Regions from separate parts of the Homo sapiens genome. Here region 1 is linked to region 2. Evidence: promoter capture Hi-C in 16 types of primary human blood cells and fetal thymus (Javierre and others, 2016). All regions are on one chromosome and are shown on one strand. Each heading gives the region's core, a stretch centred on a gene start or on the middle of the fragment in contact. The rest is flanking DNA. Distances are from core to core; before and after follow the strand shown. Region 1 holds the start of EPHX4 (epoxide hydrolase 4). Region 2 overlaps GLMN (glomulin, FKBP associated protein).

Evidence for each region. The method cuts DNA at HindIII sites, captures the fragments that hold promoters and counts their contacts. A CHiCAGO score of 5 or more calls a contact.
Region 1: the fragment with the promoter of EPHX4 here is called in contact with a fragment that was not itself captured in region 2 in 3 of 17 cell types (M2 macrophages, endothelial precursors and M0 macrophages); the score reaches 7.2 in M2 macrophages.

The regions. Positions count from the first base shown.
Region 1 is chr1:92,028,314-92,031,761 of GRCh38, forward strand. EPHX4 (epoxide hydrolase 4) reads left to right here and starts at 1,672. Exons shown (of 7, transcript NM_173567.5): 1 at 1,672-1,997. The coding sequence starts at 1,767. LOC124904218 (a long non-coding RNA gene) reads right to left here and starts at 2,074. Exons shown (of 2, transcript XR_007066222.1): 1 at 1,052-2,074. RefSeq lists an enhancer at 1,371-1,872. The HindIII fragment of the contact is 12,008 bases long and covers 1-2,638 here.
Region 2 is chr1:92,266,178-92,269,328 of GRCh38, forward strand. It overlaps GLMN (glomulin, FKBP associated protein), which reads right to left. Exons shown (of 19, transcript NM_053274.3): 10 at 1,928-1,958; 11 at 1,736-1,825; 12 at 523-564; 13 at 242-315. Among named protein-coding and RNA genes, the nearest start is that of GLMN, 31 kb to the right of the region's middle. The HindIII fragment of the contact is 1,418 bases long and covers 1,097-2,514 here.

The sequences.
Region 1 (3,448 bases), core at 422-2,921, 240 kb before region 2:
ACAAATGGCAAAATACAACATATCAACACATATGTAATACGATTAAAGAGTACTGAGAGATGCCAGGCGCGGTGGCTCACACTTGTAATCCCAGCACTTAGGGAGGCTGAGGCGGGCGGTTCACGAGCTAACCTGGCTAACACGGTGAAACCCCGTCTCTACCAAAAATACAAAAAACTTAGCCGGGCATGGTGGCGGGCGCCTGTAGTCCCAGCTACTCAGGAGGCTGAGGCAGGAAAATGGCGTGAACCCGGGAGGCGGAGCTTGCAGTGAGCTGAGATGGAGATCGCGCCATTGCACTCCAGTCTAGGCGACAGAGTGAGACTCCGTCTCAAAAAATAAAATAAAAAGAGTACTGAGAGAAATGTATAGGTGCTAAATGATTGCATTAGAAATTGCAAAGGTCTCAATAAGTTCCTAACTCAAGACCCTAGAAAAAAAGAGCAAAATACAGTTAACCCTCAAACAACATGTGTTTGAACTGTGTAGGTCCACTTACACATGGATTTTCTTCCACCTCTTCCCTCCCCCTCACCCCAAGACAGGAAGATCAACCTCCCTTCTTCTTTCTCCTCCTCAGCTTACCTAACCTGATGATGACAAGGATGAACACTCTTAAGATAATCCACTTCCACTTAATGAATAGTAAATGTATTTTCTCTTCCTTATGATTTTAACATTTTTCTTAATTATAAAGATACAGTATGTAATACATAAACATATGTTAATTGTTTTGGTCAGTAGTAGGCTATTAGTACTTAAGTTTGGGGGAACTCAAAAGTTATACATGGATTTTCAGATGTGAAAGGGTTCAGCAACCCTAACCCCCCGCATTGTTCAAAGGTCAATTGTATAACTCACACATGCTGAAGTAAATTCAAAATTGTACAGCCACTTTGGAAACCAGTTTGACAGTTTCTCATAAAAAATGAACACTTAATACCTGACCCGGTGATTGGGAAAAGGCTTAATGAAATTCTAACAGTGAACTGGACGATAGAAGAGGTCAGGACAAGAGTGGCCATGTCGGTGCTGAGGCTGAGATACCTACCGAGGACTGTCACTCTCACGGCTTCCAGCCCTTCGACGAACTCTCAGGTGTGTGGCCTTCTGGCCAGGCTTCTGCCGCGTCACGTTGTTGAAGCATTCGTTGTATCCCTGGGGTTGCAGCTCTCTGTAAGTTTGCTGTGGCTGAACCAGGCAAGGCATAGGCGGATTTCTACAGAAATTATGATTCCACGAAAGATTTTGAGAAGAGGAAGGCTGGTATCTTTCAGAGTGCAGAGTGATTTTGCACTCTAAAGAATCTCTTTGGGTGTAATAGCATGGAAGTTTGTCGCTGACCTGTGTCCCTGAACTATGACACACGAATATGTGGGCTTAGAAATAGTTTTGCTTGATACATTGAGAACAACAAAGAAGACTGAGTGGCGCTACCTTCTTTGGTGCCCAGGATGGTTTGGGAAAGTCTCGCCTTCATCCTCCCCCACAGTTTTGCGATTTTGAAACGGGATCTCGCTCTCCGCGGAAGACAGCCAAGCTCTGCACCCCGGCCTGGCCCGCCGCACCCCGCAGGCCCGGCTCTCCCCTGCGCGCTCCGGGCTGGGCGCGGCGCGTGTGCGGAGCCGCCGCGGTGACACGGAACGCCGGCCGCCCCGGGCCGGGGGAGGCGCGCGTCGAGAGGCGACGGCGGGCTGGCCTGGCGCGCTGCGGCGCTCGCTCACCCGCTCCCGAGGAAGGGCAGTGGGCCCCGCCGCCGCCTCCCAATGGCGAGGCTGCGGGATTGCCTGCCCCGCCTGATGCTCACGCTCCGGTCCCTGCTCTTCTGGTCCCTGGTCTACTGCTACTGCGGGCTCTGCGCCTCCATCCACCTGCTCAAACTTTTGTGGAGCCTCGGCAAGGGGCCGGCGCAGACCTTCCGGCGGCCCGCCCGGGAGCACCCTCCCGCGTGCCTGAGCGACCCCTCCTTGGGCACCCACTGCTACGTGCGGATCAAGGTGAAGGGCCGCGCGGGCCTGGCGGGAGCGGGAGGGAGCGTGACCGCCGCGAGGGTGGGGGGCTCCGGGCTTCTCCTTCCGAGACGCTGGCTCAGCGTCCCCTAGTGTCCTGGCAGGAGGGGAGGAGGGGTTGGGTCCCTGTGTGTCGTGTGTGTGTGTGTGTGTGTGTGTGTGTGAGAGAGAGAGAGAGAGAGAGAGATACAGATAAACAGCACTCGGTCTTTGCAGGCACCTTGATTGGTTTCTGAATGTGGAACTTCTCTAATCAGGGGCCTCTTATATTACTGCCCCCCGGCGCCACAACAACCCAGAATAAACCTGCTCTTTTTCCTACTGCAAGGGGAAGCTGTCTCCTGTCACCCTTTTGCCCTTTAGAGCTCAGATCAGCTGTAGAGAATTGTTCCTCGTGGCATCCTAATGTCTCAGGAGGCTGTTCTTGCCCAATTTTAGAGATAATAAGAGTAAACAGTCAGTCTTTGGGAGTCATGAGTTTATTATGATCACAGACGACTTAGGTTGCATGAAACAATAAGTAAATTGTGTGTGTTGTGGGGAGGAATGCATACTTATGAAGTCAGGGACCAAAGAAAGGAATGGAATAAAAGGTAAATCCAGCCATGCCTGCAGACGCTAATTGTTCAAGCTTCCTCACAGCCCACAAATATTCTGTTTCCTGAGGCTCCAGGTGGTGAAGGGAAATAGTTCCCGTGATACACCCTGCAGTCTGACTCACAGGCCTTTCAAACCCAGCCTCATAAGAGGGGATGTTTATGTCACCAAGTCCTTATTTCCTGTTAGGAGCTAAATTGCCCCGCAGCTGAAGTTCAGAAGGGCAAGAGAACTTCTTTCTTGCCTGGGGTCGACATGAGAATTAAATAGGTTAATATTTATAAAAACAAACACGAAAAACTTAGAACAATGCCTGATGCATAGTCAGTGCAATAAAGTATCTGTTAATTAAATCCATTGCAGTGCCCATAACATTTAATCCTCCAAGACTCACCACCAATAAAAAAAGTTATTGAACCTCTAGGAAGCCATCGTGCAGCTGAGGGTAAAGTCAGATTTGTTATCTCTGTTCAACCTGAGGGGTAAAAGTAGTATAAGAACCATCTGGAATTCCATAAAACACTTTTCCCCTCGCTCTGGCCGCCTAAAGAGCTTCCCCAGAGACAGAGAACCGAGTGGAAAGAGCATTGTCCTGGGAGTTAGGACAAGATGGAGATTCTGGTCACAGCCCTGCTCTCAACCATTTTATGACTCATGTTACCATCTTTGGGCCTCATCTTCTGAATCTGCAAAATGATTCTTTCACATCTGAAAACTCAGTTGCTTGAGTTGCCTGCTATAAAAACCCAATGTCTGTGTTTAGCTTTTGGTTCTTTTTGTTTCCTAGCTTGCTTGCTTTCAGAGATTTTTATTCCTGCTGTTCCCTCTACTTTCCTCAATTC
Region 2 (3,151 bases), core at 556-3,055:
CAATTGATTGAACTGCAATATATACTATTAGTCATACAAAATATAGACATATATATAGTATGTCTGAAATATTTGATTAACCCTTTCTCTAGCCATCACTGAGAATTTATAATATGGGTTCCAACCAGAGTTGAATTACATGTAAAACATACCGACATACTATGCCCTAAAACAATTACATGGCATTAACATGACTTTTAATCAACCACACACTTAGCAATTAGCCATGCTTGATACATACCTAAATAATGTATATTTGCCTTGTGAATCCAACTTGTTAATATACAGCTGAAGCATAGCTAAACTCTTTTTCCTCTAAAATGGAACAAACAATATTATTATATAAAATGAATAAAGCTTACCCAGACTTCATCACTATCCATTTTATGCATGTAATACATCCACACTTGTACCTCCTAAATAAAAATTTCACAAATTAAAATTTTTAAAAAGAAAATTAAATTATTTGTCAAATTTTCTCACTGTAACTCATTATTCTTTAGTCACCAAATATTTACATACCAGTGTCTCAATGGGGCAAAGTGTCATTACTTTCACTAAGCCCTGGAAATAAAAAAATGTAAAATTCAGATGTAAACAGATTATACTGACTGCAAACAAACAACTATAATACATCAATAGGATACTAAAAATTCAGAGAAGTGAGGGTAGGAGATTTAAAAGTGAAGTAAATTAATTTTTCCCTAAGCCTTCCATTCCAGAAAGCTAACTACAATTGATTTTTTAAGTGATATTGAGTAGAGTGTCACACAGTGTACTTTTAAAAGCAAACGATAATTTTCAATTATGTCTACAGTGGCAAGAAAATGAAATCAAATCTACAGAAATATAATTTATTAATTAAAAACAATCAAACAATATGTTAACAAAAACCATGTTTTTCTATTTAAATATTAGGAAAACCAGTTCCCACACTGAAATCTAAGGATTTCCTTGGATATCATAACTAACAAAGAGGATTGGGCAAAATAAACCATAGGAGGGAAAAACACAATGTGTATTAGTCTTTCTGGTAATGAGTCAGTGGATGCCTTAGATGGAGTCCTGAGAACTTGAGTTATGAGAAACATAAAGAAGCTTCATTTTCCAAGATCCCTACAGAAATAAAGTGTTAAAAGAAGAAAGTTATGCTTTTCTACTGGATGCTGTGCTATCAATAATGGTGGCCTCTAATAGCTATTCGTGTTTAAATAAATTAAAATTTAAATTTGAAACTTAGTTCCGGCTGGGTGTGGTGGCTCACACCTGTAATCCCAGCACTTTGGGGGGCTGAGGCAGGCTGATCACGAAGTCAGGAGATCGAGACCATCCTGGCTAACACAGTGAAACTCCGTCTCTACTATAAATACAAAAATATTAGCTGGGTGTGGTGGCGGGCGCCTGTAGTCCCAGCTACTCGGGAGGCTGAGGCAGGAGAATGGAATGAACCCAGGAGGTGGAGCTTGCAGTGAGCTGAGATAGCACCACTGCACTCCAACCTGGGCGACACAGCAAGACTACACCTCAAAAAAAAAAAAAATAGTTCCTTAGTCACATTTCAAGTGTTCAGTTTGGCTAGTGGCTTTCATATTGTCAAAGTTCTACTGGACAGCATTACACCAGAGTTTTCAAAGGTTGCAGAGAAAAGAGTGGGAAAGGAATCAGAAAAGACCTTACTTTAAGTTCAGAACAGGCAAAGGGCTATTTTCAATATTAGAATACATATTTTATTTACCTGAGGTACAGTAAGAAAACTCTTGATTTCTAAGTACTGGTAAAGTAGACTATTGTCTTCTATTCTCAATAAACTATTCTCCAGCAGCTCCTACAGATTAAAATATATGCAGATACATATATAGTGAAGTCAACAGCTGTTATTTGTTGACATAACTATGTATTTAAGTTATAATGGGAACAAACATCTTACCAATCCTTTGGAGATAACAGACTCTTCTGTTCTGAAAAATAATATTAAAATTTATCATGAATTTGTAAACTATTTTAGAATGATACTTCATCTTATGAAAAATACAGCAAAAACTGAAATTTTAACACTTTTAAAATGCATATCATTAAGGAGAAATTCTGTTGAAGAACTTGATCAAAAGTTTTAATCCATCTTTGATCTGTCTTTCGGTTTGGCTAAGGCCACTAAATCTGACCAAAATAAATCTACTCAGGGATTATTTCCTAACTTCAAAACAATAGATCTTCAACAGCAAGTGCTAAGAAACTAACTAAACCTGATATAACCAATGCTATATATTCCAGTTGATTATTCTGTAAAATCTTTCCAATTCTTTTTATTCAAAAAAAGACTCAATGACTCTGCAGTTTGGAAATCTCAAGAATTTAGGACTTAGATTCAAAACAATACATATTATCACTGTATGAATAACAGAAACTAAATGTAATGAATATAAAATCATTAAAACATACATAATACAGCAAATTTACAGAATTAGTAACTACTTGTGCCAGGAGACCCTTGGAAATTCCTGCCTTGTATGCTGAAGCTTTGGACATTGCCATGTTACAAATCTTCCTTCACCTGGTAAGAGATGGGACTGATAAACTGTCACTAGTGTTCATAGAGGATAATTGCAAAGCCCTAACTGATCTCAGGGGATAATTTAAACATGTTACATGTTATAGTGAAAGAAAACAAAGCATATAGTTCTGTGAAATTCTTTAATTTCTGTCTAGAAATTATGTATACCTGTTACTCTGTAATTTCCTTTTTTTTTTTTTTTTCTTTTGCGACAGGGTCTTACTCTGTTGCCCAGGCTGGACTGCAGTGGCATGATCTCTGCTCACTGCAGCCCAGACCTCCCAGGCACAGGTGATTCTTTCACCTCAACCTCCCAAGTAGCTGGGACAACGGGCAGGCGCCACCACTCCTGGCTAATTTTTTCTATTTTTTGTAGAGAGAGAGACTGGTTTCGAACTCCTGGGGTCAAGCAATCCTCTCGCCTTGGTCTCCCAAAGTGCTGGGATTATAGGCGTGAGCCACCGTGCCTGGCTTTTTTTTTTTTTTTTTAAATAGAAAGTCCTGCTGCTTAGCACCTCAAATGAGAAAAGTTGTAATTGAATGACATCACTGTCAATAATCTAAATTATAAAAGGTGGAAGTCAAGACACCTCCTTCCTT